Regions from separate parts of the Homo sapiens genome. Here regions 2, 3, 4, 5, 6 and 7 are each linked to region 1. Evidence: promoter capture Hi-C in human tissues and cell types (Jung and others, 2019). All regions are on one chromosome and are shown on one strand. The core of a region is centred on a gene start or on the middle of the fragment in contact, and the rest is flanking DNA. Distances in the headings are between cores, read along the strand shown. Region 1 holds the start of SOX2 (SRY-box transcription factor 2). Region 2 has its middle 270 kb from the start of LINC01206. Region 3 has its middle 250 kb from the start of LINC01206. Region 4 has its middle 150 kb from the start of LINC01206. Region 5 has its middle 130 kb from the start of LINC01206. Region 6 has its middle 92 kb from the start of LINC01206. Region 7 overlaps LOC105374242 (a long non-coding RNA gene).

Region 1 (3,934 bases), core at 812-3,311:
TTCCTTTTGTACAATTTTTAAACAATTAAAATGTCCAAATTTGAATAATTTTCTTCTTTTCACGTTTGCAACTGTCCTAAATTTCAGCTGCAGAATCAAAATTCAGCAAGAAGCCTCTCCTTGAAAAATATTGGCAAATTCTCAGCTTATAAACAATGGACATTTTGATTGCCATGTTTATCTCGATAAATACTGTACAAAAGTTGCTTGCAAATATTAAAACATTTTTTTCGTCGCTTGGAGACTAGCTCTAAATATTATTGGTAAAGACTTTTGCAAACTTCCTGCAAAGCTCCTACCGTACCACTAGAACTTTTAAAAAGTTTTTCGTAGCTTTCTTTCCTCCAGATCTATACAAGGTCCATTCCCCCGCCCTCCCCACCCTCCCCAGGTTTTCTCTGTACAAAAATAGTCCCCCAAAAAGAAGTCCAGGATCTCTCTCATAAAAGTTTTCTTGTCGGCATCGCGGTTTTTGCGTGAGTGTGGATGGGATTGGTGTTCTCTTTTGCAGCTGTCATTTGCTGTGGGTGATGGGATTTTTTTTTTTCCTTTTTCTTTTTGAGCGTACCGGGTTTTCTCCATGCTGTTTCTTACTCTCCTCTTTTGCACCCCTCCCATTTCCCTCGTTTTTCTTTGAAAATTTCTCCCCCCTCCAGTTCGCTGTCCGGCCCTCACATGTGTGAGAGGGGCAGTGTGCCGTTAATGGCCGTGCCGGGCACCGGGCCGCTCTGGTAGTGCTGGGACATGTGAAGTCTGCTGGGGGCGGCGGGTTCCGGCACCTCGGCGCCGGGGAGATACATGCTGATCATGTCCCGGAGGTCCCCGGCCTGGCAGGGCGCCCTGGAGTGGGAGGAAGAGGTAACCACAGGGGGGCTGGAGCTGGCCTCGGACTTGACCACCGAACCCATGGAGCCAAGAGCCATGCCAGGGGTGCCCTGCTGCGAGTAGGACATGCTGTAGGTGGGCGAGCCGTTCATGTAGGTCTGCGAGCTGGTCATGGAGTTGTACTGCAGGGCGCTCACGTCGTAGCGGTGCATGGGCTGCATCTGCGCTGCGCCGTGCGCATTGAGGCCCGGGTGCTGCGGGTAGCCCAGCTGGTCCTGCATCATGCTGTAGCTGCCGTTGCTCCAGCCGTTCATGTGCGCGTAACTGTCCATGCGCTGGTTCACGCCCGCGCCCAGGCCGGCGCCCACCCCGACCCCGCTCGCCATGCTATTGCCGCCGGGGGCCAGCAGCCCGCCGGGCAGCGTGTACTTATCCTTCTTCATGAGCGTCTTGGTTTTCCGCCGGGGCCGGTATTTATAATCCGGGTGCTCCTTCATGTGCAGCGCTCGCAGCCGCTTAGCCTCGTCGATGAACGGCCGCTTCTCCGTCTCCGACAAAAGTTTCCACTCGGCGCCCAGGCGCTTGCTGATCTCCGAGTTGTGCATCTTGGGGTTCTCCTGGGCCATCTTGCGCCGCTGCCCGCGGGACCACACCATGAAGGCATTCATGGGCCGCTTGACGCGGTCCGGGCTGTTTTTCTGGTTGCCGCCGGCCGCCGCCGCGGTGGAGTTGCCGCCGCCGCCCCCCGAAGTTTGCTGCGGGCCCGGCGGCTTCAGCTCCGTCTCCATCATGTTGTACATGCGGGCGCTGTGCGCGGGCCCGGCCCGCCGGCGGCCGCCGACCCTCGGCCCGGCCGGGACTTTGGGGGGCCCGCGGGCGGGGGGAGAGGAGGAGGGGAGGCGGGCGGGGGTGTCGGGAGCGCAGGGCTCCGCGAGGAAAATCAGGCGAAGAATAATTTGGGGGAAAAAAAGAGAGAGGCAAACTGGAATCAGGATCAAAAAAAGCGCTTCCCTCCTCCTCTGGCCGATCCTGCCGCCGCCGATGATTGTTATTATTATTTTTTGGAAAGGCTTAAGCCTGGGGCTCAAACTTCTCTCCCTTTCTTTCTCTCTCCTCTTCTTTCTCTCAGTCCTAGTCTTAAAGAGGCAGCAAACTACTTTCCCCCTTTTGCAAACACTCTCTTCTCTGCCTTGACAACTCCTGATACTTTTTTGAACAAGTTAATAGACAACCATCCATGTGACGGGGGCTGTCAGGGAATAAATGGGTTTCTAGCGACCAATCAGCGCGCGGCGGCTCCTCCACTCGAGCCCAGCCTCGCTGCCGGGTTTTGCATGAAAGGGGGCGGGGCCTCCCGCGCCGCCGGCCGCGCGGGGGAGGCCGGGGGAGGAGGGGGCAGGCGAGGAGGGGGAGGAGGCTCCCAGAGCCAGCCTGCCAGCCACTGAGAAACCTTTGTATCCCCTCTCGCAGCAACAGGTCACACCACACGCCTTTTCGAAGGAAGTGGGTAAACAGCACTAAGACTACGTGGGTTTTTTTTTCTTTAAACTTAATATTGATTTACTTTTTGGTGCAGGGTACTTAAATGAGGATGGGACGCGGGAAGCAGCTAAGGTGCGGGGGTGGGGCAGGGCACAGTGGGTGGCTCAGGGCGGCTGTCCAACTCGTATTTCTGGAAACAGCCAGTGCAGGAGTTGGTGTGTCATTGTTCTCCCGCTCATCCACAGCACTCCCCCCCAACTCCAGCCCCTCTGGTGCCGCTCCCGTACTGCGCTCTTCCGCTCTCCTCTCTTACCTTACAGGTGCCAACACTCTCTCACGCCCTTCTCACAGTCCCGACTAGAAGTTAGGAGACCCAAACCTCTGTCCTCAAAACCTTCCTTGCTTCCACGTAACTTGCTCTGTTCTTAAAAATAAATCCTGCTCGGACCATAAGGCAGACTCTAGAGCTGAGAACCAGCAGGCCTTGGTAAGCTGCCATCTCCCTGTCCAACTCAGCTCTTTGGCCCAGGAAACTGCAGCTCTTCCTCTTAGCCCCAGCCACATCTCCCACTAGACTGTCTTCATTCAACCGTAGCAAAGGGGATGCTTCTACTGTCTGCCCCCACTCCCCATTCCCATCCCATGCCTCCCCGTAAGAAGGGTTTCGGTCGTGCGGCTTTCAAATGGGGGCTGGGGAAAGACACAGACGGAAGGGCGCTCAAAAGTGCAGGCGATGGGGGAGGGTGATTTCAACTTCCTGGCATCCCACGGCACTGTATGGAGGTGGCTTTTGGGCCGCAGTCACAAACTCCCTCCCACGCAGAGTTCCCAGGACTCCAGCAGAACCAGCCCTGGCATTTTCCCCGTAGATTTCCATTGTGGTGGCCGCAAAGCCCAGGCCGCGCAAGGCTGGGGCTGCGCCGCAAAGGGGCTCAAGGCCTGGGAGGCGGGGTCGATGCTCTCCAGGCACAGGTGCAGGCAGCGCACACTGGGAGAAGGCGGCCGGGACTGGGGAAGGGGGAGCCCAGCAAGGCCCGGGTTAGAGGAGGATGAGATGGGGGCGGGGGTAGGGGCTCAGGAATCTTGCCCGCCCAGGACCCAAGAGGGTAATTTTAGCCGCTCTCCCATTGTCCCGACGTAAAGATTTCAATAGGTAGGCGCTCAATGCGGAGGGCAATGGCAGCACGTCCGTTACAAATAGGTAGTTTTGTTTCTCTTGTTGTCGCTACACGGAGTCAAACAAAGCCTCGTCTAAGTTTCCTTCCACTCTCTTGTTGGGATCTTTGTGGCTAAAATGCACTTGACTACAAAGGGTGGGGTGGGGGGGAATAAAGAAAAAAAAACCTGATGCCATTTCTTTTTTATAAAGGGCTTAAACCATCAGGGTTACTTATTTTCTTTCTTCTGTAACACTCTCTCCGCCCCCTCCTCCCCTGGTCTACCCTTACTCACCCTAAGAAAATGTACTGAATAGTATCTACCAGCCACGTTCCATTTATTATCTTTACAAAACGGTGCATTGTTTTGTTCCTTACTAACCTTCTTCCCATAATCACTCCCCCGACCCCCAATTTCTCCAATCTCTGCCCTCCCTAGCCTGTTACTGTCAAACTCACACTAAATATAC
Region 2 (3,934 bases), core at 905-3,404, 510 kb before region 1:
CAAGTTACAGAACCAAGGATTAGTTGAAGAATACTCATAGGCTCCTGGCATATAAAGGGCTAATTAACTCCTGATTGGATCCTACTAAATCCCTATTTCCCTTTGAATTACATCCAGACTTCTTCTACCCCCTAAAAAAGTTAAAGTACTGTATAAAAAACAAAATTTGCAGCTGAGGGTCTTAATTTAATAATCTTACTTCTGCAATGGTATGTGAAAACACTGGTGTTTGAAAACAGTGTGTTTACCTTTCTGTTGAACAGTCACTTAAATTGTTCATGGCAATGATCTGCCAGGCAAAACATGCACAAATCCAGGCCTGAACCAACAGTCTCAAACGGGAAAAAGATTCCCATGGGGAAAGATGCTGTTTACATTGCATAAGTGATGCTAAAGCAAACCTTGTTCATTTAGGTGGACAGAGTGAATAAAACCCTTGGGGTGGATTAATAGCAAAGGTGTGTTTCAGAAGAAATGCTCTGTGCAAGTATCCATTTCTGCATTAGGGCCACAGGTACTGAGAGCTACCTCTGATGCTTCACACCTTTGCCAACATCTCCCTATTTTCAGAAAGGAAAAGCACTCTCAAGCAAAACACAGGGCTTTGAATTCAGCGAGGCCTGCCTTTGGAACCTGTTACCTATTAGCAATGTGCCTCAGGCAAGTCAATAAATCCCTTTTTGGTCCTCAGTTTCCTCATCTATAGAATGTGAACTAAATAAAATAAAATAAAATAAAATAAAATAAAATGAAGACATTTTAGCAATAAATTCCTTAAAAGATTGTTGTGAGAACTCAATATGGTTCTATGTTAAAATGGCAGGTACACTTGAAATGGTAGTTATTATCACCATGAACTTCACATGCATGCTGACTCTCCATCTGAAAATATGGTTCCTGATACCCTGCCTTGAAATATTTAAAAGCAACTGGCATAGAGTTGAGGACAAGAGATCTCTTTTCTCTATTACATAAGCAGAAAGAAGCACCTGAATATAAACAGTGTTGGAAGCCCTAACATAACATTCTAATGATAGGGTATTGTCTAGCTAAAGATACGAAAAAATCTTAGAGTGATGAATTTTTAACATTGAAATTTGACTTACCTCTTGGCTCCACTGCCTTAAATCCATTTTGGAAACAGGCAGAGTATAAATAAACAGTCAACTCTTCTCTGGATGTTTGGGTGAAAGCAGATGGTGATTGAGAAGACATGGGTCAGTGTGTGTGAGAGAGTTAAAAACAAATGTCTTATGAGGTAAATAACTTGAACAATAAGAATGGAAATCTTTTTTGAATGGGAACCCAGGTCACTTGGGTCTTTGCTCTGGGAGCCTCTTTGTTCTGTTAGCAACATTTGGGTAAATTGCAAAGCACAGTCCTCCAAGTGTGGCCACTTTCTCTGTCCTTGCCTTATCCACTTCCCTTTCCATTCCTTTATTGTGTGGCAGGATTTTTCTCTCACTTGATTCATCTTTCCCCATTGCTGTCCTCTGTTTGCCCACAGCTTCATGTTGGCTCACACATTACCTTGCCCCTATCCTCACCATTAGTAGGCATTCAATGGTATCTTTTGTTGGAAAACAGGACAGAACATCTGATGCTACCCAAATGCCTTTCCCTTTTTGTTCTCCATACCAGCCTCACATATGCCCTTTCTAACTGGTTAGCCCAAAGGGATTGTTGAGGGCACCCTGGGGATACTGCCTGTTAACTGAGAGTCATTTCCTTCCCTTAGCACCACTAATAGAACATTCCATTTGAGCTCAGAACTTATATTTGGATAACTGTGTTGAGATGAAACTTTCTTCCCATGCCCTCTGCTCTGTACTCCCAGATCGTTCTGAGAGCTTGTAGCATCCTATATTGTAATGTAATAAATATGTGTGAAGACCAATGCTTCCCTCCAGCTTATTGCTAAATTATCCACAGGAAAATTAAATACACACTTTGGGCTCTGGCAAAGCAGAGGCGTTAAACAAAACAAACTACTAAAACCATCAACACAAAAAACAAACAAACAAAAGCAGAAATGTGCAATTAGAAGACCTCGAAAGATGCAATTTTAATGTAGAACACTTCATTTTTATGTCTTTAAAACAGTTAAATTTTATTTTGAAACATCTGTGGGAAGGGAACACCACCAACCTTCCGGAATTCAGAGCCTCCTCAATTCGTACTCTGTGCCTGTTCTTGATGAGAGATTCTTAAGTGAAGTCTCCACCAGTCCCCTGAAACCATATTCAAAATCAAGTGTTGTTGCATTTTTTCGAGGTAAAACCTTTTAAGTTTCATCAGACTCTCAAAGGGCTCTGGAAGCCTGTACTGTTTAAGAATCACGGCACTAGTGAGCTGGAGAGATGAACTATGTTTGATTCATCTTTGTACGTTAGGGGCTAGGGCAGTGTCCAGCAGGGTGGGCACACAATATTGGTTAATATACAGTGAGTCTTCCTGAGTATTGAGATTATTTTGGCACTTTTATGCATCAAAGAGATGTAATTCATGATTCTGTGACCCTATTGTTTTGCGGTTATTTAACATTTTGGTCTACTTGATGGTGATACATGCACACACACACGCACACACACACTTTTTTCTTTCTAAATTATTAGATGGTCCCTAACACATTGGTAAGCTTAGACTAGCCCTAGGATCAAACTTGGTAAAATGATTGTTTGCAAATTGGAGTTTGCTACTACAGTTGTCCCTTTATACTCATGGTTTTGTATCCTCAGGTTCTGCATCTGCGGATCCTGCAGATAAAAATATTTTTTTAAATAAAAATAGGAATACAACATTAAAAACAGTATAACAACTATTTACATTTGCATTTATATTGTATAGATACTATAAGTAATCTAGAGATGATTTAAAGTGTGCAGAAGGTTGTACATAGGTGATATGCAAATACTACACCATTTCGTATGAGAGAGTTGAGCAACCTCAAATTTTGCTATGCACAGGGGATTTCTGAAACCAGTCCCAAACAGATATCAAAGGACAACTGAATTTCAATCAGAAATGTTTTTAGGTACTCCGTCTTCTCATTTGTCAATTTTAATTCAACCTGTTATTGCTTTGTTTTAAAAATTAGCTGGTGTTGTTTGCAGGCAAAATAAGTTCAGAAAATTTCATCCTCATTCATCAGAGTTTCTCCAGTATCTTTGTGTGAGAGTCAGTCCTCCAGGAAGCCTGTTAAACGTGGGGATTCCAGGGCCTCCTCCCCAGAGGGTCAAGATAACTAGTCTGGAATCTACATTTTTAACAAAGACGTCAATTGATTCTGAGAAGGGTACTCTATCAGTCTTTGAAAAACACTATTTTATATTGGCTCACTCTCTCCATTAGTATTCATTGAGGTTCAAATCTAAATTTAGGGAAAAAAATGGGCATGTATCACTTCTGAAACTTTCCTTTGAATCTTCATTTCCATGAGACAAAGAGAATGTGGAAAAATGCTTTAGGGGAGAAGGAACTAACCCTATTTTAGACTTGCTGTGTTTTGTTTTTCATTTTTAATATGTGGATGATTTCTAAAGCAATCAGTGAAAACCTAGGTAGCACTGGAAAAACTTTTCATGTTTGCTTTATCTTTGGTGCCAGAGCACATTAAATGTTAACACTGCGACTTGCAAGGACCCCCAGCTGGTGGATCCCTGAGGACAAGGACAGAAGTTCACCATGCACGGCCACTCTGCTTGTAAGTTTGTCTTCATGGAGCCACAGCCTCAGTATATTATGGCAATTTATTGAGCTCTGCCCGTTGTTACAGATAAATGTGTTGATAGGGCAGAACCTTTCTCCTCACATACCCTCCAGACAAGAAGGGACTATGCTTGATTTGGTTATGTTTATTTTAAGAACATTTATTGAGTCCTTGTATGAGATAACTACAGATAGCTGATTTTACATACATTTCATTTAATTCTCA
Region 3 (3,934 bases), core at 928-3,427, 490 kb before region 1:
CCTTCCCAGCCCTACGATTTAGGTAAATCTCATTGCCTTGCTGAGTCATTGTGGCCTCATCTGCTCAGGAAGAACCAAAACATCGAACTCACTGGTGATTTTTTTTTTTTTTTTTTTTTTTTGAGATGGAGTCTCACTCTGTAGCCCAGGCTGGAGTGCAGTGGCGCAATCTCAGCTCACTGCAAGCCCCGCCTCCCAGGTTTACGCCATTCTCCTGCCACAGCCTCCCAAGTAGCTGGAACTACAGATACCCGCCACCACACCTGGCTAAATTTTTTTGTATTTTTAGTAGAGATGGGGTTTCACTGTGTTAGCCAGGATGGTCTCGATCTCCTGATTTCGTGATCCGTCTGTCTCGGCCTCCCAAAGTGCTGGGATTATAGGTGTGAGCCACTGCGCCCGCCCTGAACTCACTGGTGATTTGAACGATTGAGTTACTGATGGACATTTGACAGAGTTCCTGGCATGTAGTTGGCTGCTTAATACCATTTAGGTCGAATTATATGCACTCGTTGTTTTTGTAGGTCAAAAATGGTTGAATGTGGGTAGTTTCATATGGCTCAAATTATAGTTCCTGGCAAACAGGGATTGCTGTTGTGAGCATATTTGACTCCATTTGGTGACTTCAGTTGTAACATGGGATTAAAGGAATCCAATCGCCTATCCTCCCCACTCCTCCTCCTTTGCTGCAGGGAGTGTTATTTGGAACTTCCTTGCCCTCTCCCTCCCCTCTGCCCCATGACCAGAGTGAATTCGGTAAAGGGATGCTCATGGCAGCATTCTCTTTGGCACTCCAGGGAATGAAAACTCACAAACCACAGTGTGGCATGAGAAGGACTCCTGTGACCTGTCCGTGGATGAAGAGGCAGAAGAAGGAAAAAGAAGCACTTTATATTCCTTGAACGAGCACTCCTATTTTTCTGGTATGAATAAAAAGTCCAGAGAGGTGAAACGGAAAAACCCATGGGCTAAACCCAGGCTCTAACCCATACTCTCTACTTAACACTTAACGACTTGCATGATGTTGGGTCCACCACAGCCACCCTGAATTCCAGTCTCCTTGTTTATAAGAGGGGGGTATTAGGCCAGAGCATCACCTAGATCCCATCCACAGGTAACTCTGACAATGGAGGTTTTGGTTTGACGCTCAGCTCTGCTGCCAAGATGCCAAAAGTTCTTTTGGAGCCTCAGTTTAGCCATCAGCTCAGCAGTGTAACAATAACTCAACCAGTATGATGGGCATAGGCAACCCAAACTAGGAGGTGCATTCATTGATCTGAAGCCTGCAGAACTGGACAGCTGTCTGAAGAGCTGCGGGAAAGGGCTCTGAGATGAAGCAAAGTGAGAGAAAATGGTTGGCGTCTGTGGTCAGTGGGGTGAGGTGGAGGAATAACTGTTCAGATTTGTTTTGAAGTGTAGTTTTTCTAGAAGCTCATTTCATATTAAATTATAAAAACCTCATGGAAAAGTGATTACAGGCTCTTTCTGTGGCAATAAAACAGCCCTCAGGGCAAAGAAGCACTAAGGCTTAATACATCTAAAAATATCTTATTTTTCTACGGCTTGATTGAAACTGGTGTAGGTGTGCTGGCATTTGACTTGGGGAGGTCGTACCTTTTCTTCTTCTTCTTATAATACTGTTTGGCAGCTTTTCACTCTATCTTACCACAGATCTTTGCCAAAACTTGAATTTACTTCCGTCAGATTAACTGTCTCCAAAAACAAACTGGCATTTCTTCTAAGGGCTCCGATTAAAAGGATAAGCCTGAGTGACACCCCCTAAATGGCTGGATGTTCTCACACAGCTAGAAAATCAGAACTGGAAAAGTGGCAGAGGCTGTGTTTAGTCACACGGCAGCACAGGCATTTGGACGGTGAGAGGGGTTGCTGTTTCCCTGTGCTCCGTTTAGAAACGACGGGTGAATTATGATTTTTGAAAACACATTCCTCAAAAACCTGTCAGAAGAAATTCCTTGAAATCTCTCAACCACTGTTTTGTTCTAGGTCCCAGCCTTTCTGCTTTTTGTTTGTTTTAAATATCACCTTCGATAATTTCACTGATCAAATTATGTTGGCTTCCCCAACGCTCCAAGGAAACAGAGGGCCTCTCCCAGTTGCACAGCTGAATGCATATGGAATTTGAATGAGCCAACTATGTATAGGCCAAAGAACTTCCTCTCTTTAACATTCCAGTAGATGGAGAGGAGAGTCCAAGAAAGGCGGAAAGTGAGAAAAGATGAGAGACACATTTGTCCAGTTCTTCCCTCGCTCTTATATCATTTAATCCCTCAAGAATAAGAGTTAGGGTCAAAATTATTTTCCAAACAAGTATTTTTCTTTGTGTTTGTTCATTTATTGATTTTCTTTTAAATGTCCCTATGTTGAAGAAGAAAATAAGGAGGGAATAGGGAAGAAAGAAGCAAGGTTGCTAATTTACTTAACAGGTTACAAATATGAATGCCTAACAGATACAAAACATTTAATGAGATAACACTTGAGGAGTCGAAATGTGGGTCCTGAATATTCTCTAGCTGTGAATTTCCCCTTCTCCCTCCTTCTCACAACAGTCTTTCTCACTCAGTGTAACAATACCTTGAATGCAGGGGCTCTGCGGCAAAGCTGGGGAAGAATTATGCTAAATTCTCTAATCCTGTATTGAAACCATCTAATAATGGAAGGCGAAACAACTATGATTGCTTTTTTTAAAAAACTTTTATTACTTGACCTGAGAAGATGTATGATCAATAAATGATATTTTTAATTCATCTGAGAAAAAAAATTTGCTATATAAATATATAAGCCGATCGCTATATTTACTTAAAGTCTTTCATTGCCAAAATCCAAATTTCTGTGAGTTAGACACGGATTGGGCTTATCTAAGCATTGTTACATTATATTTTTATTTTATATCACTTGTCACTTTCGTTACTAGAAATGAAATCATCGTCACTTCTCTGGATAAGTTATCTGGATGAGTCAGAAATCAACCAGCCTCAAGTCCATCAAGTTACCATGCCTCCTTCCGTTCTCTCTGTACTGGTGAAAAGTGGAGTTAGCCCGTGGATCACTGGCTACTCCTCTGGTGCCCTCAGATGTGATATAAATATCCTACCAAGAATGAGGTTGTTCATAAAGACTTGGTATAAACTGAAGTGAATTTAAAAATATCTCTTAGTTCTCACTGACAGTCACCTCAGTAGAAATTCCTTAGTGCGTTAGATTGACAACCACTGGTGACAAGTGCTATTCCTGGGACTTTATACATATTTTCAGATCCGGTCCTTGAAACCAGTGGTTGCCAAACTTCTTTGATCATACACCCCGACAGTTTCACAATTTGGACCATGTATCCACAAAATATGCATATCCATTGATTTATTATATATATTTTCTACACTACCACTATATTATATACATTATAAAATGTGCACAAAAACAGGGATTTCAAAAGAATCTGATAAATATAAAACAAATTTTATTTTACATAAATTAGAATATTTTGCTTATAATTATTTATATTTCGCCTTCAAAAATACAACTAATAGTATTTTAACAAGAACAATTGAGTATGCTTCATGTTTTATGAAAATCCTGACTAATCAGTTTATAATAGGATCTAGCTCTAAGTTCACTTTGTTTTTATGCTTGCTATTAATGATATCAAAGCTTAAACATATTGTCATTATCCTTAACTTAGTGTGGCTATTTTACTAGGAGACATGCTGGCTTTGCCATTGCCTTGTTCATTTGAATTTGCATTATTATTATGAATTTCTGTATGTGGTTTTACTATAGGGATCTTTTTAAGCCACTCATTCAATTTGTAAGTGATACTTTAGTTACACCAAATAATATAATCCACAATTCCTTTTAGCCGAACACAAGAAAACCATAATGCCTTATAATGTGCTGAAGGCAGCCTAACACATGAGGG
Region 4 (3,934 bases), core at 778-3,277, 390 kb before region 1:
AATCTTCATCATCTCCACAAGCATTGCCTTGCTAATGAGAATTAAGTCCAGAGCAGCAATAGCCTCTACCTGATAGATCAAATTGGTGGTTAAGCACAGCAAGGTTAAGTATTTATCTGGTTTTCTGATATTAGCAAAATTAGGCATCCTGCCAACAACTCAATGATACATATTCCATTGCTAGTTTGGTGACTTCTGTGAACCTTATTTTCTCCATTTATCAAATGGGGGAAATACTTACCGTATCCACTTTTCCCAGGGTTTCTGGAGAGCATCAAATAATAATAATGTAAAAATGTCTTGTGAAATGAAAGCTAAATAAATACGGTCTTAAATGACTCTCCCATGGACCAAAGTATATGAGAAAGAACTTCCCAAATAGTAGACAGTAACTATCTAGATGAGTGAAAGCAACAAAATGGATCCAGGATTCAGAATAGGCCAGACTTAACAGATTTAACTTAATTAACATCTTGTAGGTATTCATACCATAACCTTCTGTGAGGTCTACAATTCAGAAAAAATAAGGAGAACTTGGAGAAAGGGATTCCGGTGTTGGGAAGTGAAACCTACGCAAAAAAAAAGGAAACTAACTGGCAGGCTTCAGCCAGGAAAAGAAATGTTTATAAGGTGATCCATGCATGCAACTAACACTTAGTTAATGCTTCCTATTTGCTAAGTGTGTAGGTCTTGATAGGAGGTATAAAAATGTAAATGACATGGCCTCTGCTCTCAATGAACCATTAGTCCAGTAAATACTGATTTTCAAATTCTAAACATTTATTCAGAAAAGGGTTTCAAGCTCTCACTAAAGGGCAGCCAATTTGTTGAATGTAGAACAGTAAAAATGAAAACATGGTTTTTGTTCACTGTATACTCTGATATGTAGAAATATGTAAATAACTCAGTATGATGCAAAGATTTCCATATCAGTCATGACAGACTAGGCTATGCCGCCATGACAAATAACTCCAAAATTTCAGTCACCTGAAACAACAAATGTTTGTTTCTCCTTCGTGCTACCTATCCACTTGATATATGGGATACGATTATCAAACCAGGCTTCAGAAGAGTGAGTCTTATTCCCATGTTTGCTGGAACACAGTATTAATAAGACCAATATTAATATATTTACTATCCATTAATAGAAGGTAAAAAGAAATCTTCCTCAAGGTCTTCCAAGACAGAGTTTCAGGTTGACCTCCAACAGCTGTAGATGGTCTGTTGTTTGATGGCCTCTTTCTTGGTCTTACTCTTCTTAGGCCTCCCCTTCAATCCTGCCATGTGTAGAGCTGGGCTCTTGGAAGCCCACATATAGCCTCATACATGTGACTCCCTCTACCTGGAACATAGCCCCTGGCCCCCACTATCACCTACCTACATCTAGTTCTGTGCTAATTTGGGAGGTGTAATTAGACACACACACACATACACACACACACACACACACACACACACACACACACACACCACACAAACACTGTCTCACAAGAAGCTCCAGTCTTAGGAAACCAGAAGAGTAGTATTTCTTTTATATGGGAAGTTCTATTATGAATCCACCTGAACAGCACTCATCTAACACATCTGTATTGAGTCCTAGCTGGGTACCAGGCATGATACTGGGCACCAGAGATTCAATGGTGAACCACACCAACCCGTTCTCTGCTCTCATAGGACTCAGTGAAGAGGCAAATGTTAGTCAAATAATTACACAAATGGACATTCCACATTGCAATAAATATCATAAATAAAAGGAATAGTGTTGTAAGTGTGTATGGCGAGGATTCTGGGAATGTTTTCTCAGGAAATGGCATTTGAGCTGAAACCTGAGGGATGAGTCGCAGTTAACGGAGAACAGGAAATGAATGGAGTTAGTGGTTTCCAGCCATATAATGGTTAGTCTTGACTCATGCCATAATAAAACTAATAAGAAAAAACTAAAGAAGTTTAAGAACAGTTTAATTTTAAAAATAATTCTAGACCATCCATATAATTGTATCATCCTCAATTACTTGTATCACATTTCACTTCTTTCTGTTGGAAATAATGGAGTTACAAGCCATGTACTCTGAACTGCACACATCCTCAGATACATTTACTAAGGTGTTTTTTTGTTTTGTTTTGTTTTGGTTTTTTTGCCTGTGAACATCAACCTCTGACATGTGCCTCCATTGATGAAAGGATGAAAATTAGTAGAGAAGATGACATATCATAGAGAATTCCAAGCCAATGTAACCATTATATGTCAAAGTAAGGCCATACACAGTAGAGAATGTCAAAAATTACAAAATGCAATTTAATAATTTTTACTAGTAATTTTACTGGTAAATAATAATAAAACATTAATTGGTTGATTTTTTTAAAAAAATTTCAATAAAAGATGTTTTTAGAAGCAGTGCTGAGGCAAACATATATTTAATGTTGCCACAATACAAATTAAATATCACATTGGCTTTTTAAAAAACTGTTTGCTTTATTTCCTCTGCACATCCCAATCCAGTGTTTTCTACAGGTACACATACATGATGCATTTTATACATATTCATCCCCATAACTTGACAGGTGGGAGGGATTCTTGCAGACATTTCTAAAAGCAGACAAAAGGCCGTTGGTTCTGCTTTGCACGATGGTTTGTGAAGACAGAATATCACACACTTCCACTGATGATTATATAGCTCTATCCATCTGTCTGCCACTGGAGGTTGGGAGACGGAGATACAGCTCCCACCATCCCTGTAAACAAAAGTAGACCGTGCTGTCACCAGTCAGACACGCCAGCTAATTGGAGCTGTCGACAGACACAATATTCTGTGTCAACAGCTCTAGTAACAGTTTGAAACAGCAATGATATGTTGGTTGATGGTGAAGATGACACATGTGTCTCTAATAGCATGCTAGAAATCTGACATAACTAGAAAAGAATTACTAAAATGTGATTCCTGGCCTCTGGTTTTCCTGTTCAGACTTACCCATCTCTACAGAGGTTGGAGAGGAGGGGATTGTTGTAACACATCTTTCTCTGTATCATTTCACAGGCTGACAGCTTAATTTGATACTCATAATGTCTAACTTTAAAATTAATCTTGCTAAAAAGATTTGTTTCAACAAGCCTCCAAATCTTAAACTCTTTTGGAAAATTAATAAGAAAAATAAGAAACCCTTATTTGTATAGCTTCCTGGGTTGAGACCAAAATAAAAGGAGACATTTTGTCAATGTACCATTTATGTGACTAAGAATTTATATGATCTTCAGGAAAGTAATTTTTACAGAGTTAAATGAATACATATGCGCATAGATGTGGCTTATTTTTGAACTTCACTTCATGAGAGACAAAATATTCTCCAAATAGAAACAATTTTGTCAAGGCTTTGGGACATAAAGGCATACTGTATATTCATCTCTTTGTAAATTGTACCTATTAGGGAAACCTTACATTATGCATTCTATTAACGAAAAGTCAGGAAGTCCCTTGTTGCTTTCCAATAGTTTATTTATCTTCTAAATAATTTAATCACTTGACTGTCTAGGTTTGAATTTTAGCTTGGCCACTTACTGGGGTGGACAAGTTAGTTAACCTCTCTGTACCTCAATTTTCTCATCTATAAAATGAAGACAATAACAGCACCTACCACATACAGTTATAAGGATTAAATGGATTGTTACATGTAAAGTGCCCAGGACATGTAAAGTGCCTGGCACATCACATAGTAACCAGCCAATACGTATTTTAATTTATTACTAGCATCATCATTATTATTGATGGTTCATGTCCAAAGAGAGCCTTCAATGATTAATGAAAGCAAGGAAATATATCAAAAAACAGTTCAAATGCCAAATAGGCTTGGGAGTCAAACAGACCTGAATATGAACCCTTGTTCAGACATTTACCAGGCTTTATGAGCTTGGACAAGTCACTTAACCTCTCTAAACCTG
Region 5 (3,934 bases), core at 824-3,323, 370 kb before region 1:
ATGACTTTCCTCCTGCCTGAGGTATTTTTTTTAGATGTCAAACTCATTGAATATGTATTTGTTAGAAATTTGTTTTCATCCTTTTTTTCTGGAAAATTATTTTCATAGAGTATACAATTCCCGGTTTTCTGAACATCTTGACGGTACCATTCCACTGTTTTTCTGGCTTTCATTGTTGTTTCTGATAAGTTGGTCACAGTCTAATTGTTTTGCCTGTATGGATAACCCCTCTTCTGTCTCTAGCTGACCTTAAGAGCCTCTTTTTGTTTTCATTATTCTACTGTTTCACTAAGATGAGTGTAGATGGAAATTCCTTTTTTTTTTTTTTTTTTTTTTGAGACAGGCTCACACTCTGTTGCTCAGGCTGGAGTGCAGTGGCACGCAATGATGGCTCACTGTATGTAGCCTTGACCCTCCTGGACTCAAGCGATCCTCCTGCCTCAGTCTTCTGAGTAGCTGGGACTACAGGTGAGTACTGCTACACTCAGCCAATATTCTTATTTTTTTTTCCTTTTTTTTATAGAGATGGGGTCTCACTATGTTGTCCAGGATGGTTTTGAACTCCTAGGCTCAAGCAATCCTTCCACTTTGGCCTGCCAAAGGGCTGGGATTACAGGCAGGAGCCATTGTGCCTGGTCCTGAATTATTTTTAATTATTATTCTTGGGATTCTTTAAAATTCCCATATCTAAGAAGTGTGTTTCTCATTTTCTGGAAAATGTTCAGCCATCATTTCTTCATATGTTCTTTCTCCGATGCATTCTCTCTCTTTTCTTCTGAAACTCTACCTACATGTTTCTTAACTATTCATTTTTTAAAATTTCTCTGTGTGTTGCATGCTACGTAATTTCTGTCTTCACCGGTGTCTAATCTGCTATCAATGCCATCCATTGAATTTGTCATTTCAATTACTATTTCTAATTTTTTTAAATTTGTTTGAAAAATTTTTAGTTTCTTGCACCTTACTCCTAATTATATTCTCTTACTTTTTTCCTTTAAATACATAAAACGTATTTATTTGACAGTATGTGACATACAATTACGGGAATAAAAATATTTCCAATTAAATATTGGAAAGCCTTTGCAGATCTGTCTCTGTTGGCTCATGTTCATGGTGTATTGTTTTCCAGGTATTAGTTGATTTTTAGATTATGAGCTCATGGTTATTGGAAGTTAAATATACATGGGAATTATTTGGGTCTGAGTTTTAAGCGAGTTTCTCCAGATTTGTGTCTTCTGTCCTAGACACATGAGCCTAGCTCACCTAGGACCACTTTAAACCTAATTATTGGCTTTAGATTTTCAGCACACCCAGATAGCATGTTTTGGGGCCACAAACCTAGGTGAGGACTCACTGATGACTGAGAATACTCAGGAAATATTTTTATTCTCTTCCCACCAGCAAGACTTGAAAGAGGCCGTTTTTCTTATTTCCCCTTGGAAGACAGGTTTTTCTTTTTCACCCTTACTTGGAGGCTATGACCTTTTGGGGCTTTAGCTTTATGTCGGAGGTCCCCTGATTAAATTCCCCTCCTTAGGTAGGACCTATGTTTTACCTCCTGTCAGCAGTATGAAAACTGACACTCAAAGTCACTGACGTTCAACCAGCTTCAGGGCAGTGTGTGAACATGCTTCAGTGTGCTCAGCTTGCCACTCTGGGTTCCTACTTTCACTCAGTATTTGACCTGTCAGGAATCCTCATCTTCTTGCCAGCTCATCAGTGCCTTTACAAAGATTCTTTATGTATGTTATATGGTACTTATCCAGTTTTCTTTAGCAAGAGAGTCAGCCAGTGCTTCTAGCTGGCCATACCACTAGACATAGAAGTTATAATAACTATCCACCAAGTAGGAGATTAAATCTGTCCTTCACACTTTAAAACCAGTCACATGCTTCTCTTCCTTAATTCTGTGTTAAATATTTTTACCTAAATATATCAAAATATATTAAGGCAGATGTCACTCTCCCCAGTTTATGTTACAGGGAATCCCATAGTGGCTTTATTATTCATTCATTATCTGGATTCTTCCATGTTGCCCAAATTCAAACAAGTTTTGAACCTCTGAAATAAAGCTTACTAAAGGTTTTATCACCATTTTAGCCTTTAATTACTTGGACAAACTTACCCCTCTTCAGAATGAATATCAAGCTAATAGATGCCTGAAATTGAGCTGATCTTCTACATCAAGGGTTTCCAAAATGAGAGAAATTACTAGCTTTTTTTTTTTTTTTTTTTTTTTTTGAGACAGAGTTTGCTCTCGTTGTCCAGGCTGGAATGCAATGGCACGATCTCTGCTCACTGCAACCTCCACCTCCCAGGTTCAAGGGAGTCTCCTGCCTCAGCCTCCTGAGTAGCTGGGATTACAGGCATGTACCACCACACCCAGCTAATTTTGTATTTTTAGTAGAAACAGGGTTTCTCCATGTTGGTCAGGCTGGTCTCGAACTCCTGACCTCAGGAGATCCGTCTGCCTCAGCCTCCCAAAGTGCTGGGATTACAGGCATGAGCCACCACTCCTGGCCTACCAGCACTTTTATTAACAAAAATGTTTATCTTAAAAGTCAAAAAGAATTAATATTTACCAGTGTGTAATATAGGAGTTGACAGTTATTCTTACTTGGCCCGCATGCTCTGAGGGAAGAGGGCATGTGTGATCCCCCAGAGTGTGAAGGGATCAACAGTGGTGGCCTCTCTTTCCTCCTTTGTCACACTACAACTTACTGGAGTGTGTCCCCAGTTCAGCACATTTCCAGACTATATTTTCTAGTTTATGCTCACGCTTTCAAAACGAGCACCTGGCTTTTTAATTTTTTCTGCAAAGATGCTGTGAGAATCAAAGAGAATATTAATTATGCAAGCACATATAAACAACAAGAAAATGGCAGAGATGACACTTCTCCCACTCCTAATATAAGCTCTTTGTTCATCACATTACAGAGAAAAAATTAACGATCTTATCATATCTGACAAGACAGTGTCCCCCTCCAATCAATTTATATCCACTGTTATTAATGAATTGTCTTGCCTCAAATGTGAATTTTGCCCTGAGATATTAGCTAGTGATAGTTGTATATGTACGTTGTATATAATCAATAAATATAAGTGTATTGGGGTTACACAGTTAACAATTGCTTATTGTTTGGAAAGACTTGAAACCTACCACCCAGGCACCCCCTCGAAAGATTTTGCGTTCACATAATTATTTCCTCTATGATTATTGTAATTCATATAGGTACTGTGTTTTAGGTAATTCACTCTTTGTCCTGTAGAATGATTCATTTGGACAAAATTCATTCCATGTCCAAGCAACAACCAACACTTCCTTTCCACTTCCAATTGTTTGGCTAGCTTTACTTTATTTTCAAACCTCACGTTATGAACACTTTCCACAATCCCATTGCTGTTGCATTTAGTTGGACATTGTGGGGTAAATAGTTCTGCTAAAACATCTCAAAGCTATGCACAAACATTGTGAATCATCGACTAAGATAAAGTATGCTGCTTTCACAGAGCCATTAATGCCAACAGGGTTGAAATCCCCACATCTGCAGCATGGCTTGGTTCCTGTCTGTGAGTGCTTTTAGATTGGAAATTCTTAAGCAAAGCACTTTATGTATATCCAAAGACATCTGAGGATCTTTGAAAAAAATTATATTTATAGATATAATGTAACTTTCATGGCCAAACCTAATTGCTGAAGATTTATTTTTTAGCTTATAATAATAATCATCTCTGTCTTCCCAACCTCTGTGAGGAAAACAGCAAAGTCTATAGAAAACTAACCAGAATCAGAGCAAGAAAGACTGTCCCTGCCTGCTGCCTTTTTCTCCCTCTTTTTGTGATTATTAGTACAATGTAAGTTACTCCTGGGTTTCAAGAGAGCAAGGATTATTTATCTTGGACCGAACAAACTTATCTCATTATCTCCTGAATC
Region 6 (3,934 bases), core at 1,062-3,561, 330 kb before region 1:
AAGCGGAACTTATCTTCGGATAGAGATGTGTTGGTTCTATCTGTTGCACAGAGACTTCTGACTTCCAGGGATATTAAGTTGATATAGCTAAAATGACATTTGATGAAGACTGATTAAACAACAGGGAGGGGAAGTTGAAGGCTGGGGTCCAAGGCGGAAGACAGCCAGGTGATGTTCCTGGAAGCGGCTCACAGGCCTGGGCCTGCGGCCTGGTCTTGGCGCCCAACAGGTAGGGGGTGTGCGCATGCGCATGATGAAGCCTGCGGCAAGGCGTACGAAACCCCAGTGATCCCGAGGTGATAAAGTCAACATGCCAGCCTGCCAAAATCTGAAGCCTGAAAAGGACCTATTTTCCACTACACATATGAAGACACCATTCTCATTCAAATATTTATTTGGACTTGGATTCTGAAAAAGACTTATTCCTGTTAGGCTTAGGCACTTCCTCATTCCTTTCTCTCTCTTTTTAAGATTATATGAGGATTTCCTTGTCATTTGTCTAAGGGACTGATGCCTTATTCATTGAAGTAGTAGCTGAAGCCTGAAAATAGAGAATTCAGGGACACATAAATTAAAGGTTGTAAAAGTTTAAATTGTTAAGCAAACTCAAGTCGTAAAATATACCCTCATTCATCACTCTGAAAGATTGTGTTTAAAATGAAGCCATAGGATACCTCCTTCACACCACTGATTTCTCAACTGAAAAATAATCAAGGGCAAGCCTTTTTTTTCCCTTAAAATTCAATTCTTTAAAAGAAAATTAGCGGTTGGGTGCATTGGCTCATGACTGTAATCCCAGTACTTTGGGTTACCAAGGCAGGAAGATTACTTCAGCCCAGGAATCCGAGACCAGCCTGGGCAACATAGTGGGACTCTGTCTCTACCAAAAAAATGCAAAAATTAGCCAGGCATGGTGATGTGCACTTGTGGTCCCAGCTACTCAGAAGGTGGGAAGATTGCTTGAGCCCAGGAGGTCAAGGCTGCAGTGAGCCATGACTGCACCACTGCACTCCAGCCTGGGTGACCCTGTCTCAAAAAAAAAAAATTAGCTTTTAATATAAATATTATGGCATGAGAAAGCTACAACCACATTATAGTTGTAGGAATTATTCATGAATGAACTATTTACAGAAGTAAAACTGATGCAAGCACTATTTTTAGATAAAAATATAAAATGGCCCTTTTGTAGGGATTTTTACTGTCCAAAAAAGATAAATAAATTGTGTGTAGTGCCTACCAGATGCCAGACACTCTTTCATGAGCATTAATCATTTAATCCTTATAGTAAGTCAATGATGAAGAAATTATTTCCAGCTTATAGGTGGGAATACTGAAGCCAAAAGATTTGTCAAAATTGCACCATCAAGTAAGTGCCAGAGAATGAAAATCAGATTTTTGACTAAAAATTTGATATGCTTTTCACTATACCGTGGTATCTCTTAGGTATGAATATTAAGCATTCTAGTGAGAATTAATTTAAATTTGTGCTTTCCTATATCCCACTCCAGATATGTTCCTCAGCTTTGAGGACTATATTGCAATATAGAGAAGGCATGTTCTAATAAAAGAGGCTGCCTTAAATCCTTTTTAAAAACAAAGTGGCATATGTATAAGTAAGGAAAGAAAAATTGAGAAAAAATTTTAAAGTCTATTAATTGTCTCAAAATGAAATGGTATTACATATAATTTGTGAATCATTAGAATGCTAGAGAAAGTTCCCAAAATGATACCCTGAATGAAATATTTTAAAGTATCATTAAGACTCTTAATCCAAAGAACTTTGGAGAGACTCTGTCCCTTTAGTTTTCTTTAATATATGCCCTTGAAAAAAAAAATGCCCATGCAATAAATGTTGACCAAAACACGTTGGCTTTGCAGTTGTGCTTTGCTATAAAATTAAAGATAAATTCTAATGAACTATGCAGAAGTATGACCTCATAACTAGGTAGGTAATGATACGGTCAATGCCAAAACACAGTCCTCATCAGTAAGAGCTGAAGCTTAAGGTTTGACATTTTATTTCTTTGTTCCACATGTTTATTTTTTGAATTTCTTAAAGACTATTAGAGGAAGTAAATTAATATCCTTAAATATTCATTGGCCCAACATCATACTGAATGGGCAAAAGCTGGAAACATACCCTTTGAAAACCAGCAGAAGACAAGGATGCCCTCTCTCACCACTCCTATTCAACATAGTTTTGGAAGTTCTGGCCAGGGCAATTCAGGCAAGAGAAAGAAATAAAAAGTATTCAAATAGGAAGAGAGGAAGTAAAATTATCTCTGTTTGCAGATGACATGATTGTATATTTAGAAAGCCCCATCATCTCAGCCCAAAAACTCCTGAAGCTGATAAGCAACTTCAGCAAAGTCTCAGGATACAAAATCAATGTGCAAAAATCACAAACATTTCTATACACCAATAATAGACAAACAGAGAGCTAAATCATGAGCAAACTCCCATTCACAATTGCTACAAAGAGAATAAAATACCTAGGAATACAAATTACAAGAAATGTGAAGGACCTCTTCAAGGAGAGCTACAAACCACCACTCAAGGAAATAAGAGAGGACATAAACAAATGGAAAAACATTCCATGCTCATGGATAGGAAGAACAAACATCATGAAAATGGCCATGCTGCCCGAAGTCATATATAGATTCAATGCTATTCCCATCAAGCTACCATTGACTTTCTTCACAGAACTAGAAAAAAACTACTTTAAATTTCATATGGAAAGAAAAAACAGCCCATATAGCCAAGACAATCCTAAGCAAAAAGAACAAAGCTGGAGACATCACACTACCTGACTTCAAATGGTATTACAATGCTACAGTAACCAAAACAGCATGGTACTGGTACCAAAACAGATATATAGACCAATGGAACAGAACAGAGGCCTCAGAAATAATACCACACATCTACAACCATCTGATCTTTGACAAACCTGACAAAAACAAGCAACGGGGAAAGGATTCCCTATTTAATAAATGGTATGTGGAAAACTGGCTAGCCATATGCAGAAAACTGAAACTGGATCCCTTCCTTACACCTTATACAAAAATTAACTCAAGATGGATTAAAGATTTAAACGTAAGACCTAAAACCATAAAAACCCTAGAAGAAAACCTAGGCAATACCATTCAGGACACAGGCATGGGCAAAGACTTCATGACCAAAACACCAAAAGCAATGGCAACAAAATCCAGTATTGACAAATGGAATCTAATTAAACTAAAGAGCTTCTGCACAGTATAAAAGAAACTATCATCAGAGTGAGCAGGCAACCTACAGAATGGGAGAAAATGTTTGCGATCTGTCCATCTGACAAATTGCTAATATTCAGAATCTACAAGGAACTTAAAGAAATTTACAAGAAAAAAACAAATAACCCCATCAAAAAGTGTCCAGAGGATATGAACAGACACTTCTCAAAAGAAGACATTTATGTGGCCAACAAACATGAAAAAAAGCTCATCATCACTGGTCATTAGAGAAATGCAAATCAAAACTGTAACGAGATACCATCTCACGCCAGTTAGAATGGTGATCATTAAAAAGTCAGGAAACAACAGATGCTGGGGAGGATGTGGAGAAATAGGAACACTTTTACACTGTTGGTGGAAGCGTAAATTAGTTCAACCATTGTGGAACACAGTGTGGCGATTCCTCAAGGATCTAGAACTAGAAACACCATTTGACCCAGCGATCCCATTACTGGGTATATACCCAAAGGGTTATAAATCATTCTACTATAAAGACACATGCGCATGTGTGTTTATTGCAGCACTATTCACAATAGCAAAGACTTGGAACCATCCCAAATGCCCATCAATGATAGACTGGATAAAGAAAATGTGGCACATATATACCATGGAATACTATGCAGCCATAAAAAAGAATAAGTTCATGTTCTTTGCAGGGACATGGATGA
Region 7 (3,934 bases), core at 673-3,172, 310 kb before region 1:
GAGCATGCCACCTGGCCACAGATATTCTTAGATAGTAGTTGGTGACTGGGTATAGGATATGATTTCTAAGCCTATGATGCATTAATTCTGCGGTTTGTGCATAATCGTCCTGCTTAGAGTGTGGTCCAAGGTTTTGGTAGCATTAGAGACAGTCAAGGCCTTGACTTTCTTCTCCAGTTAAGGTTGGCTGCTGGAGGATAACAATACTAGGAGGCTTGCAAAGCCCTTATTTTAAGGCATTATCTTCTCCAACTTAGTATTAACTGCTCTAACACAGCAGGAATGGACAGGGATACTTTTGAAGGGTTAGGATATCAGCATCTTTCAGCTGCTTTCCTATTTCCTCAAATTCCTTAGGAATGGAGCATTTGCCCTTCTGTATGACCACAGCTACTCTCACTTGGAGGATCATCAATAGACAAGGGTCAACCAGCTCCAGAGGAAGCCTCTTCTACAGCTCAGAGAACCTATTCCTTTAAGTTTCCTCACCTCTGTTCCAATGCCAGACAAGACTTTTACTGCAAACACTTCAGTATCATTTCTAATAAAGATAGCTTCCTAGCTGAATATCTCCAACATACATACAATCTGTTGTATTTCAATGCCCTTCTTCAAAGGGCACTTGGTGTTTGAGCTCTAGTATATTCAAGTGAAATATGTCTGGGAAAAACCATTGTATAAATAAATATTAAGCAAATTTTTAACAGAGAGGCCCATGGAAGATGACTTTATTTTCTAAAACTTTTCAATCAAGTTAATGGAAAAATTGAAACCTCCAAGCCCTCTGTGTCATGGTAATTTACACTGTTACAGGATTGTAGCATGTCTGAAATATGAGGAATCTCAGCAGTCCTGAAGTTCATCAGCTTGGACACCAGACCCACAGAGGCCCAGTTGTCCATCTCTGCCCCACTCTCAGGGTAGGGCAAAAGGCAGAGTACTCTGAGGCCTCAGCAGGATCCTCCACCCTGCTTTTATTTCCTTTATATATTGGGATTCTGCATTGGGTTGATTGACTTAAAGGGCTTTTGCTGCCTAAGAAAAAGACTTAGAAATATTTGATTTTTTACTGATGATCAGTGTGACACCCTAATTTTACAAATGCAGCCACTGGGTAATAGGAAGAAGAGGTGACTTGCTCCAAAGTCTCCCCACTAATAAATGACAAATGATTTTTACTTCATATATTGCTCCATCTACCTGACAATGTGATCAATTCTGCCAACAAGTCACCTTTCTGAGTATCTCAGCCTTAAGCTGCCTTCAGCTTCATGGAAATCACAGGCTATGTTCCATATTTTGATATGAAGCTTAAAGGCACAAGAGCATCCCAAGGGCAACCTCCTCCTATTTTGAGGTTTGCGGTATTAAAATTAATCAAAAGTAAATGCTCCCAGACATAGAAAGTTCTTCTAATATACTTTTCGAGGAATGCATATTGAGCCACTCAACCTTACTGACAAAAGAGAAAAGTGCGCCTTCTTATGTGCCCTGGCTTTTTGCTTGACAGGTGGATCACAGTGACAATATTTGCAAGGGAATCTTTTGATAAATGGATGCCTGGCCTCTCATATCACAGAATTTGCTTTGAAAGGACAAAAACCTTACAGAGAGAGCATAGTCCTTGACAAACTGGGCCCCATAGACCTTTATCTCCAAACTGTCAAATCAACCCAAATAAACTCTTTGCTGGCCCCAGAACAGTCTTTGTTTATGCCACTTCCTTCTGATCATGTGTGAATCTTCAAGGTTCAAGTTCTTCACATCCCACTCCGCCCCCCCGAAATCTTCCTTGGCCTCCCAGAGCAGGAGGAGTATCTTCCTCTTCTTACTCCATATCCCTTAACATGCACTGCTCTCTAATAATAATAGTACAATTAACATCAACTAGCATGTACTTAGTGCATACTATTTGCCAGAGACAACTCATTGAAATAGGTACTATCGCTATTTTGTAGATGAGAAAATGAGAGTTAGTGAAAACAAGAAACTTACCCAAGATCAAACAGACGATAAATAACAGAATGGTTATCTGAACCCAGAATTCTATAGCCTGAGATGTTACCCCTTGTGTTATATATCATTGTGTCCCTTCTGGGTTATAAGCCACCTGAAGATGTGATCAGTTTCTTTATTGTCTCCGATCACCATGGTTTCTCATACAGCATGAACAGGGTGAGGCCTCAATGAAGAAGTGTCATTATAAGAGTCATGGAGACCACGTTCTGCAAATGCAAAATCCCTCAGCACTGGAAACCATTGACTATCCACACAGACACACACTCACACTCAGCATTTGGCTCTCTCTGCTGGGTCTGCTGCAGCTTGGCTGTTCTAATAGCTGATGGATTAGTGCTGATCTACACTGATTGCTCACACCTGCAATTCAAACTAACCCCTGTTCTGCTCTGTGCAATCAGCCATGCCCAGGTAAGACCATCAGCTTCCCAAATGACAGGCAAACAGAGACCCACCTGACGGGTCTGACCAGACACCTGTGAGATCTGCAAAGTGGGAAAGATGGGGGAAGGGGAAGGTGGAATTAGAAAATTAAAGCGCTAAATGTAAAGGGTAAAATAATGAATGCTTTATTTATTTCTCAGAAAGTTTAGAAACTTTGTAGATAGAAAACATCAAAGGTCTCCAGCTAACGACCACAGAGCAGTAACCAGCAATGGAATTTTTACAGGCACTAGGGTCTGGTATTTATGTCTGTATAGGAAGCTTTAGTCAGAGAAGTTAGATAAATCTTAGAATGTCAAAATTCCAAAACAGAATCATACTTTGATTTCCAGTGCCACCCTCTACCACAGAGCTCTAGATTCATTTGCTAACCTTGTCCCAGTAATTATCATAACATCTCATTCTGGAAATAAGGAACATGGATGGGAAAAAAAATGTAGTCTACAACAGGGCTTCGACAACTTGCTCAGACCATTTGTTGCAGGGCCAGAAAAATGCACTGTTCTTCTTGATGAAAGGTGTTCAGTTCTGTCAATTATGTTTTCTACTCTGCATTTCTCCTAAGTCTTAGTTTTCAATATGTAATAACGTGTGGAAAAATATATGATGTAGATATATGTATGTATATGGTTTTAATGATCATAGTTACAAAAGTAAAATCATATCCCCATTTATTCCCCTTATCCTTTGGCAATCCCTATTGCCTTCTCAAGGAAATAATTGTTAAACCCAGAGTAAATGGAATAGTTCCAGTTGCAACCATAAATAATTGGATTTGCTGTATTTCCTACTTTGAAAAAAAAATCCCTCTAAATTTTCAAAGTGTCAGATTTTTGCAGTATAAATTTTACTGAATTTGTTTGAGCTGTATGGCTAATATATCTCAAGGTACAAATGAAAAAATATCAGAAAGGCAAAGTTGAAGATCTTGTCTGAGTTTCAAGACATTATTTTCCAAATACAGCCAAATAGAGAAGTTATCAGTTACAATATCTTCCATAATAGCAACATTTTTTTCTGTTAACAATGATGTTTATTAAAGCATTGAACCAGGGGGATTTTTTTTTTTTTTTTAACTAGAGGCTTGGTTTGGGGCTTGCTGAGACTTACAAGCTTTTAAACACTAAGGCTCTGGCTTCTTTTTTAGAAAAGCTAGTGATAAGTTGAGTCAGTTCTCCTGGAAGCAATTTCCAGTCCCCCCAGAGTCATCCCACAGACCTTCATTAAAGGCAAAACGATGCAACAAGTAAGCAGTAGCTTCTCATGTTCTGTATGTCCTGTCTTGTGATATTTTTAAAGTGTTATTATTACATCAGCCAGAAAGTCAAAGTTGGCTCAAGGTAATATGTTTGAATTTCAGTGGTTTCAAGTTTTACTGAGAATGCCAAAGCTTGGCCCTGGATTACACTCCCTCTGGTCACACCTGAGCCAATCTGGAAGATGTGTGTGTAACAACTTTACTTGCTTTGGA

What was found. Contacts are between HindIII fragments. The study calls those that stand out against the background at their distance.
Region 2: a fragment that was not itself captured here is called in contact with the fragment with the promoter of SOX2 in region 1 in 2 of the 25 tissues and cell types used here (dorsolateral prefrontal cortex and lymphoblastoid cells).
Region 3: a fragment that was not itself captured here is called in contact with the fragment with the promoter of SOX2 in region 1 in 3 of the 25 tissues and cell types used here (dorsolateral prefrontal cortex, mesendoderm cells and neural progenitor cells).
Region 4: a fragment that was not itself captured here is called in contact with the fragment with the promoter of SOX2 in region 1 in 2 of the 25 tissues and cell types used here (aorta and dorsolateral prefrontal cortex).
Region 5: a contact is called between a fragment that was not itself captured here and the fragment with the promoter of SOX2 in region 1, in 1 of the 25 tissues and cell types used here (liver).
Region 6: a fragment that was not itself captured here is called in contact with the fragment with the promoter of SOX2 in region 1 in 1 of the 25 tissues and cell types used here (lymphoblastoid cells).
Region 7: a fragment that was not itself captured here is called in contact with the fragment with the promoter of SOX2 in region 1 in 2 of the 25 tissues and cell types used here (lymphoblastoid cells and thymus).

The regions. Positions count from the first base shown.
Region 1 is chr3:181,710,052-181,713,985 of GRCh38, reverse strand. SOX2 (SRY-box transcription factor 2) reads right to left here and starts at 2,061. Exons shown (of 1, transcript NM_003106.4): 1 at 1-2,061. The coding sequence starts at 1,625. The coding sequence ends at 672. The region is part of intron 6 of SOX2-OT (SOX2 overlapping transcript); the gene reads right to left. RefSeq lists enhancers at 220-1,071, 1,072-1,925, 1,926-2,778, 2,779-3,632, a silencer at 2,161-2,220 and a promoter at 1,800-2,833. The HindIII fragment of the contact is 19,833 bases long and covers 1-3,934 here.
Region 2 is chr3:182,216,645-182,220,578 of GRCh38, reverse strand. No RefSeq gene overlaps it. Among named protein-coding and RNA genes, the nearest start is that of LINC01206, 270 kb to the right of the region's middle. The HindIII fragment of the contact is 5,463 bases long and covers 1-3,934 here.
Region 3 is chr3:182,199,872-182,203,805 of GRCh38, reverse strand. No RefSeq gene overlaps it. Among named protein-coding and RNA genes, the nearest start is that of LINC01206, 250 kb to the right of the region's middle. The HindIII fragment of the contact is 3,991 bases long and covers 182-3,934 here.
Region 4 is chr3:182,103,984-182,107,917 of GRCh38, reverse strand. No RefSeq gene overlaps it. Among named protein-coding and RNA genes, the nearest start is that of LINC01206, 150 kb to the right of the region's middle. The HindIII fragment of the contact is 7,214 bases long and covers 1-3,934 here.
Region 5 is chr3:182,082,838-182,086,771 of GRCh38, reverse strand. No RefSeq gene overlaps it. Among named protein-coding and RNA genes, the nearest start is that of LINC01206, 130 kb to the right of the region's middle. The HindIII fragment of the contact is 4,458 bases long and covers 1-3,934 here.
Region 6 is chr3:182,042,843-182,046,776 of GRCh38, reverse strand. No RefSeq gene overlaps it. Among named protein-coding and RNA genes, the nearest start is that of LINC01206, 92 kb to the right of the region's middle. The HindIII fragment of the contact is 3,356 bases long and covers 634-3,934 here.
Region 7 is chr3:182,022,376-182,026,309 of GRCh38, reverse strand. It overlaps LOC105374242 (a long non-coding RNA gene), which reads left to right. Exons shown (of 3, transcript XR_924755.2): 3 at 358-580. Among named protein-coding and RNA genes, the nearest start is that of LINC01206, 72 kb to the right of the region's middle. The HindIII fragment of the contact is 3,587 bases long and covers 129-3,715 here.